Linked DNA regions of Homo sapiens: regions 1 and 2 are each linked to region 3. Evidence: promoter capture Hi-C in human tissues and cell types (Jung and others, 2019). All regions are on one chromosome and are shown on one strand. Each heading gives the region's core, a stretch centred on a gene start or on the middle of the fragment in contact. The rest is flanking DNA. Distances are from core to core; before and after follow the strand shown. Region 1 has its middle 20 kb from the start of SLX4. Region 2 overlaps SLX4 (SLX4 structure-specific endonuclease subunit). Region 3 holds the start of SRL (sarcalumenin).

Evidence for each region. Contacts are between HindIII fragments. The study calls those that stand out against the background at their distance.
Region 1: a fragment that was not itself captured here is called in contact with the fragment with the promoter of SRL in region 3 in 1 of the 25 tissues and cell types used here (dorsolateral prefrontal cortex).
Region 2: a fragment that was not itself captured here is called in contact with the fragment with the promoter of SRL in region 3 in 1 of the 25 tissues and cell types used here (dorsolateral prefrontal cortex).

What each region holds. Positions count from the first base shown.
Region 1 is chr16:3,630,092-3,632,791 of GRCh38, reverse strand. It overlaps a transcript of DNASE1 not described here. Among named protein-coding and RNA genes, the nearest start is that of SLX4, 20 kb to the right of the region's middle. The HindIII fragment of the contact is 7,090 bases long and covers 1-2,700 here.
Region 2 is chr16:3,605,003-3,607,702 of GRCh38, reverse strand. It overlaps SLX4 (SLX4 structure-specific endonuclease subunit), which reads left to right. Exons shown (of 15, transcript NM_032444.4): 3 at 1,005-1,229. Among named protein-coding and RNA genes, the nearest start is that of SLX4, 5.3 kb to the left of the region's middle. The HindIII fragment of the contact is 4,547 bases long and covers 1-2,700 here.
Region 3 is chr16:4,240,635-4,243,367 of GRCh38, reverse strand. SRL (sarcalumenin) reads left to right here and starts at 1,288. Exons shown (of 6, transcript NM_001098814.2): 1 at 1,288-1,361. The coding sequence starts at 1,301. The HindIII fragment of the contact is 19,223 bases long and covers 1-2,733 here.

The DNA of each region.
Region 1 (2,700 bases), core at 109-2,608, 610 kb after region 3:
CAACATGGTAAAACCCCGTCTTTACTAAAAATACAAAAATTACCCAGGCATGGTGGCAGATGCCTGTAATCTCAGCTACTTAGGAGGCTGAGGCAGGAGAATTGCTTGAACCCAGGAGTTGGAGGTTGCAGGGAGCTGAGATCAAGCTACTGCACTCCAGCCTGGGCAACAAGAGTGAAACTCTCGTCTTTAAAAAAAAAAAAAAGAGAGAAAAAATTAAAGAGATGGAAAAAGACATAGCAGGAATCAAAAAGAAAGTCCCAGTGGCTATACTAATTTCAGGCAGAGCAGACTTCAGAGCAAGGAAAATTATCAGGGATAGAAAAAGGACATTACAAAATTATAAAGGAGTATTTCTCTAAGATGAGGTAACAAACCTTATGTGTATACGCCTAACAACAGAGCATCAAAATCCTCAAAGCAAAAACTAAGAACTGCAAGGAAAAGCAGATGAATTCACTATTATAGTTGGAAACTTCAACATCAATCTATCAAAGTGGACAGATCCAGCAGGCAGAAAATCAGTAAGGACATAATGAACTCAACAGCACCATCAAGCAACCAGACAGAATTGACATCTATAGAGCACTTCATCCAACAGCAGCAGGATACACATTCCTCTAAAGCTCACATGGAACATTCACCAAGATAGATCACATTCGGGTCCATAAAACACGCCTTAGCAGACTAATGCATTTAAACAATTATGAGTTTATGTTTTGGGACACACAGTATATAATAATGTAATTTTGTGACAACTGAAAGGGGTGGAGATGAAGCTATAAAGAAGCAGAATTTTTGCATGTTACTGAAATTACGCTGCTATAAATTCAAATTACAATGTTACACAAAATAAAATGAGAAAATAGTTAAACATGTTACTACAAAAAGAAAAAAGAAAACCTACAAAACTCCAGCTAAACACAAAAGAAGACAATAATGCAGGTAATTAGAGATTTTAAAATCCATGGCCGGGTACAGTGGCTCATGCCTGTAATCTCAGCACTTTGGGAGGCCGAGGTGGGTGGATCACCTGAGGTCAGGAGTTCAAGACCAGCCTGCCCAACACGGCAAAACCCCATCTCTACTAAAAACACAAAAATTAGCCGGGCATGGTAGTGCGTGCTTATAATCCCACTACTAGGGGGCTGAGGCAGGACGATCCCTTGAACCTGGGAGGTAGAGGTTGCAGTGACCTGAGATCATGCCACTGCACTCCAGCCTGGGCAACAGAGCGAGACTCCGTCTCAATTTAAAAACAAAACAAAACAAAAAAACCTATAAGGTGGCTGGGCACAGTGGCTCACACCTGTAATCTCAGCACTTTGGGAGGCCGAGGCAGGTGGATCACCTGAGGTTAGTAGTTCGAGACCAGCCTGACCAATATGGTGAAACCCTTTCTCTACTAAAAATACAAAAATTAGCTGGGTGTGGTGGGGGGCACTTGTAGTCCCAGCTACTAGGGAGGCTGAGGCAGGAAAATTCCTTGAATCTGGGAGGCAGAGGTTGGTTGCAGTGAGTCAAGATTGCCACTGCACTCCAGTCTGGGCAACAGACCAAGACTCTGTCTCAAAAACAAAACCAACAAAAAAACCCAAAAAATTAGCTGGGTGTGATGGCATGCGCCTGTAGTCCCAGCTACTTGGGAAGCTGAGGCAGGAGAATCGCTTGAACTCAGGAGGCGGAGGTTGCAGTGAGCCAAGATTGCACCACTGCACTCCAGCCTGGGTGACAGCAAAACTCCATCTCTAAAAAAATAAATAAATAAAATCCTATAAGGTATATAGAAAAGAAACAGCAAAATGACATAAGTCTTTCCTGATCAGTAACTAAGTGTAAATTGATTAAACTCTCCAATCAGAAGACAGAGATTGGCAACGTGGAAAAAAACTACATTACCCAATTATATGCCATCTATAAGAAACTTACTTTTTTATTTTTACTTTTATTTTTAGAGAGACAGGGTCTCTCTATGTTGCTCAGGCTAGATTTGAACTCCTGGGCTTAAGCAATCCTCCTGCCTCATCCTCCCAAGTAACTGGGACTACAAAAAAGAATCACTTTAGATCCAAAGACACAACTAGATTGAAAGTCAAAGGATGGAAAAACATATTCCATGCAAACACTAACCAAAAGAGAGCAGGGCTCTATTACTATAAGACAAAAGAGACTTTAAATTTAAAAAAAAGATTAAAAAAGGACATTATATAAAGGTTCAATACAGCAAGAAGATAAAATTATAAACAGATTACAACTAATAACAGACCATCAAAATATATAAAGCAAAACTGACAGAATTGAAGGGAGAAATAGCCAGAAACAGTGGCTCATGCCCGTAATCCCAGACTTTGGGAGACTGAGGTGGGCAGATGTCTGAGCTTTGGAGTTCAAGGCCAACCTGGGCAACATGGAGAAAACCTGTCTCTACAAAAAAGTACAAAAATTAGCCAGGTGTGGTGGCGTGTGCCTGTGGTCCCAGCTACTTGGGGCGCCAAGGTGGGAAGATCGTTTTGAGCCTGGGAGGTCGAGGCTGCAGCGAGCTGTGATCACGCAACTGCACTCCAGTCTGGGTAACAAAGTGAGACCCCGTCTCAAAAACAACAACAACAAAAACAACAAAAAACAAAACAACAACAAACACACACACACACACACACAACAAAAAACAAACAAGGGCTGGGCGTGGTGGCTCACGCCTGC
Region 2 (2,700 bases), core at 95-2,594, 640 kb after region 3:
TTACTTACTTAGTTTTTAGAGACAGGATCTTGGTCTCTCACCCAGGCTGGAGTGCAGTGGTGCTATCATAGCTTACTGCAGCCTTGACCTCCCAGGTTCAAGCAGTCCTCCCTGCCTCAGCCTCCCGAGTAGCTGGGACCACAGGCACCCACCACCGTGCCTGGATAATTTTTTAACTGTTTAAAGCAGTTTTCTTGCCCTGCTGCCCTTGGTATACTGAGCTATATGCTTACTACACATTCTTCATGCAAAACTGAAAACTACCCTTGCATATATAATACACCATGGGCTCTCTGAGCTCCTGAGTTCTGTTTCTAAATTTCCTTTGCCCTCACTTCCTGATCTTAATAACCTCTCAGTAGAGTGGTGGTAGAGTCTCAGGTCGCATAGACTACTGGAAGGCATCAGCAGTGTTGCCTCACCAACTTTACTGGTCTCTCGTGCTCTTTGCCAGTCGGATGAAATCTATGCATGGTTCCCCCAAAACACGTATCCATGCGCGTATCTGCAAAACTGGCACACAACTTCATGGGGTTCATGGATCCCCACTGAAGATCATCCGTGGATCCCAAGTTAAAGAAGAACTGATCTAGGACATAAACCTTTGTCATTAATATTTCTTTAATAATAGCTTTATTGGGGTATAATTGATATTCCATAAAATTCACCATTTAAAAGGGTATGGTTCAGTGGTTTTTAGTATATTCACAGACTTGTCCAACCACCACCACTACCTAACGTTAGAACAGTTTTATCATCCTAAAAATAAACCCCATGCTCATTAGCAGTCACATCCCATTCCCCTCCTGTTATTGATATTTATGTCTATATTGCCATAAACAAAGAGGTTACCAACAAGCAACCAGTCCTCTTCACATTTGTGAGTCAAACCTAAACTAGTTGATAAAGGACTCTTGAAACTTGCGTCTAACCTGTATCTGGTAGAAAAGTCTTTTATTTCTCCAGCTACAACAGATGGTTGTGAATATTTTCCTCCTTGCCAGAGAATGTGCCCAACAGCGACTCCCAGCCTCCTCCTTCCTGTTTGACAACAGCAGTGCCAAGTCCCTCCAAACCCCGCACAGCACAATTGGTCCTACAGCGAATGCAGCAGTTCAAGAGAGCAGACCCCGAGCGTTTGAGACACGCTTCAGAAGAGTGCTCCCTCGAGGCTGCGCGGGAAGAAAATGTCCCAAAGGATCCTCAAGAGGAGATGATGGCGGGGAATGGTATGATGAGTGTGTTTCTGTCTTCCACACAGAGATAAGTTAATACAACTCTGAGGAAGGGAGGCGGGAAGGAATCAGCATTTGTTGAGTTTCTTCTGTGGATAGGCTCTCTGCTTGATGTTTTACCTTTGCCACTTCACTGGATCCAGCCAGAGAATGAAGAGTCTCTGGGATCATTTCCCACCTAGCTTCCTTGATAAGGTACCGTTTTGTTTTTTTTTCTGAGACAGAGCCTTGCTCTGTCACCCAGGCTGGAGTGCAGTGACATGATCTCAGCTCACTGCAACCTCCGCCTCCCAGGTTCAAGCAATTATCTTGCCCCAGCCAGTGGGATTACAGACGTGTGCCACCACACCTGGCCAATTTTTGTATTTTTAGTAGAGACAGGGTTTCGCCAAGTTGGCCAGGCTGGTCTCGAACTCCTGACCTCAAGTGATCTGCCTACCTCAGCTCCCCAAAGTGCTGGGATTACAGGCGTGAACCATTGCACCTGGCCCTCTTCCTTTTTTTTTTTTTTTTTTTTTTTTGAGATGGAGTCTCGCTCCGTCACCCAGGCTGGAGTGCAGTGGCACGATATTAGCTCACTGCAAGCTCCACCTCCCAGGTTCACGCCATTCTCCTGCCTCAGCCTCCCGAGTAGCTGGGACTACAGGCTCCCACCACCACGCCTGGCTAATTTTTTGTATTTTTAGTAGAGACAAGGTTTCACCTTGTTAGCCAGGATGGTCTCGATCTCCTGACCTCGTGATCCACCCGCCTTGGCCTCCCAAAGTGCTGGGATTACAGGCGTGAGCCACTGTGCCTGGCCTCCTTTTTTTAAAAATTATGACTTTTTATTATGAAAGCTTTCCCTTTCAGTTTTTTCCTTTTAAAAAGATAACCCTCAGTATTCACAAAGAACTCTTCCTTTCAGAAAAGGTTTTTTTGTTGTTGTTGTTTTAATTACAATGAAGCCAGGCATGATGGCTCATGCCTATAATCCCAAAACTTTGGGAGGCCAAGGCAGGAGGACTACTTGAGGTCACAAGTTCGAGACCAGCCTGGACAACATAGTGAGACCCCCATCTCTACAAAAAAATTTTAGGGGCCAGGCGTGGTGGCTCACGCCTGTAATGCCAGCACTTTGGGAGGCCGAGGTGCGCAGATCACAAGGTCAGGAGATTGAGACCATCCTGGCTAACACAGTGAAACCCCATCTCTATGAAAAATACAAAAAATTAGCAAGGTATGGTGGTGGGTGCCTGTAGTCCCAGCTACTCGGGAGGCTGAGGCAGGAGAATGGCGTGAACCTGGGAGACAGAGCTTGCAGTGAGCCGAGATTGCACCACTGCACTCCAGCCTGGGCAACAGAGCAAGACTCTGACTCAAAAAAAAATTTTTTTTTAATTAGCTGGGCATGATGGTGCACAACTGTAGTCCCAGCTACTCGGGAGGCTGAGGTGGGAGGATTGCTTGAGCCCAGGACGTTGAG
Region 3 (2,733 bases), core at 39-2,538:
TTTTTTTTTTTTTTTTTTTTTGAGACAGAGTCTCGCTCTGTTGCCCAGGCTAGAGTCAGTGGTGCAATCTTGGCTCATGGCAACCTTCGCCTCCTGGGATCAAGTGATTCTCCTGCCTCAGCCTCCTGAGGAGCTGGGATTATAGGCACCCGCCACCACACCCAGTAATTTTTGTATTTTTAGTGGAGATGGGGTTTCACCATGTTGGCCAGGCTGGTCTCAATCTCCTGACCTCAGGTGATCCACCCGCCTCGGCCTCCCAAAGTGCTGGGATTACAGGTGTGAGCCACTGTGCCTGGCCCTGATTTAGTTCCTTTCCTCCAAGGCTGGCTTCTACCTCTTCCCCACACAGTGACACTGTACCCCGACCAGACAAGCAAGTGTCTGCTTTCCCTTGGCTTCTTACAACTGGCTCTCTGGGCCATCTACAAAAAATTTTAAAAAATTAGTACAGCATGGTGGCACTACTGTCCTAGCTACTTGGGAGGCTGAGTTGGGAGGATTGATTGAGCCTGGGAGGTCGAGTGCAGTGAGTGATGATTGTGCCACTGCAGTCCAGCCTGGGTGACAGAGCGAGATCCTCTATCAAAAACAAATAAACAAAAAAGCACTTTGCAGAGGTGACTGAATGTTCTGGAACCCCTGGGCCATTGGAAATGGATATCTGTTGCTCCATCCTCCAGTTTACACCGTAGCCTCAGCTTGTGTCTCAGTGTGCCCCTCTCCCTCTGGTCTGTGCTCTCTCTCTTCCAGAGGCTGGGAAGGTTGTTCCAGGGCTGCAGCCTTGGACCTCAGAGGTCACATGTTGCGGGTTTGCCGTAGCTGACCACTCTCTAGCATGTGGATCAGTGGCTGTTAAATAGGATTTCTTTTGCGTGGCCTTACAACTTCCTCCTTCCAGTGCAGGCGTGTCAAGGTCCTTAACCTGCCGAGACTTCAGGTCAAGTTATTGCAAGTTCTGGGAAGACTCAGCTTCCCAGCTCCACCGCCTGAGCCCAAGGGATGCTCCATTTTATGCCTGTCACCCACGCCCTGTGACCCATGTCATGTGATCCCAGGGCTGCAGGGGTTCGGGGGAAGAGAATCCAGCCACGGCCCTGCCTTCTGGGGCCTGGCAGCTGGGACAGCAGTGGCGCAGCCTGAGCCTCTGCACAGCCTTCTGGGGTCCGGGCTTCTTCCCCATCACACCCTCCTAGTTGCCCTGGTGACTGTGTGACCCCTCTCCCCCCTCCACCGCCTGCTGCCACGGCCGGCCGTATAAATAGAGGCGAGGAGCAGCTGGGCTCTCTTGGCAGTCACCATGAGGGCGCTGGTCCTGCTCGGCTGCCTCCTGGCCTCGCTCCTGTTCTCAGGACAAGCAGGTAGGGCCCCTCCCAGCATGACCCAGCCCAGACTGGTCCCCCACGCTTCCTCCAAGGTTTTCTGTCTACCATGGGTTGGGTAGGGGGTCGGGGCTGATGGCAAACCCTGGCTCTTGGCTGGTGTCTTCTTACCCTTCTCTTTTCCCCGGGCCTGGGGCCTCAGAGAAAGAGCTGGGTGCTGGAGAATAGCAGCACAGTTGCGGGGCCCTCAGGAAGGCCAGAGGAAGTGGGAACGGCAAACAGAGCTGAGCTGTGAGCCAGGGTCAGAGAGGAGTCTGGCCAGTAGATGTGGGAAAGAGGGCCCTCAAAGTCGAGACGGGGGAGCCTCTGAGACGGACAAAATAGCACAGTCTGGGAGCTGGAGGTCGTTGAGGTGACCCTCCCACCTGGTGGGATATAAGGCGGAGGCCCCACTCGGGTAAGAGAACTGGGTTTGCGTGGACAGAAGGGGATACAGTGGGCAAAGGTGGGGACCGTTTTGGGAGCAGTGAGATAGAATTGGAATTGGTTTGGGATAAGATCGGAAATAGAGTTGGCGGTTGGGCTGGAAACAGCATTGGATGCAATTCAGAAGAGGAACGGGGCCCGTTCTGGAGTAGAGCCTCTGCTCGGGGTGGGGGCTTCCATCAGAAAAGGGGCTTGGCTCTGTGTGCTGAGGCTTCCCTTTGACATCTCAGCACTTTGGGTAGCAGAGGTGGTGGCTTGGGTTGCAGCATGGGGGTTATCTATAGGCTATGGAGGAGATGCCAGATTGTTTTGCCACCTCTCTTGTTCCTAAGGTTCCTGAGGCCAGGTTCCCCGAGGGAATGCTTTTAGGGAGGTGCTCCGGGGATCCCCCTAGGATCCGGACTGCCCACCGAGTCTTTTCATGACTCGGCAGTCTTCCCCCAAGCTGGGCTCTGAGCCTAGGTCCGTACCTGGGACTGGAGAGGCCCAGAGTCCAGCCTCTCAGGTCTTTGAGGTTGAATAGGGGGTTGCAGGGGCACAGTCCCTGCAGGGAGAGCAGGCAGTGGGTGGGAACAAAAGCTATTTCTCGGGGACTCAAGATGTAAGGTGGGGGGCTCCAGCCACTGCATGTGCTGCTGGGCCCTGCCCTTGTCTGTCCTTGAGTTAATTTGGGCTCTGCAGGGCTGCAGCGGCTTGAGTGCTGAGTATTCCAGGCGGCTGTCAGGCGGCTAAGTATGGAAACAGCCGCGTAATTGGATCCGGAGCCCCAAGCCGCTGCCACCCTCTCCCTTCGTGGCCGCTCCTGTGCTGCCCCCCAGCCCCAGCTGCTGGGCTGCTACACACTGGGCCCCAGGAATTTTTGGCCTTTTAGGGACATCCTTTATCTTTCCTCCCACCGAGGGAACTGGTCATCTGGAATGTTCTG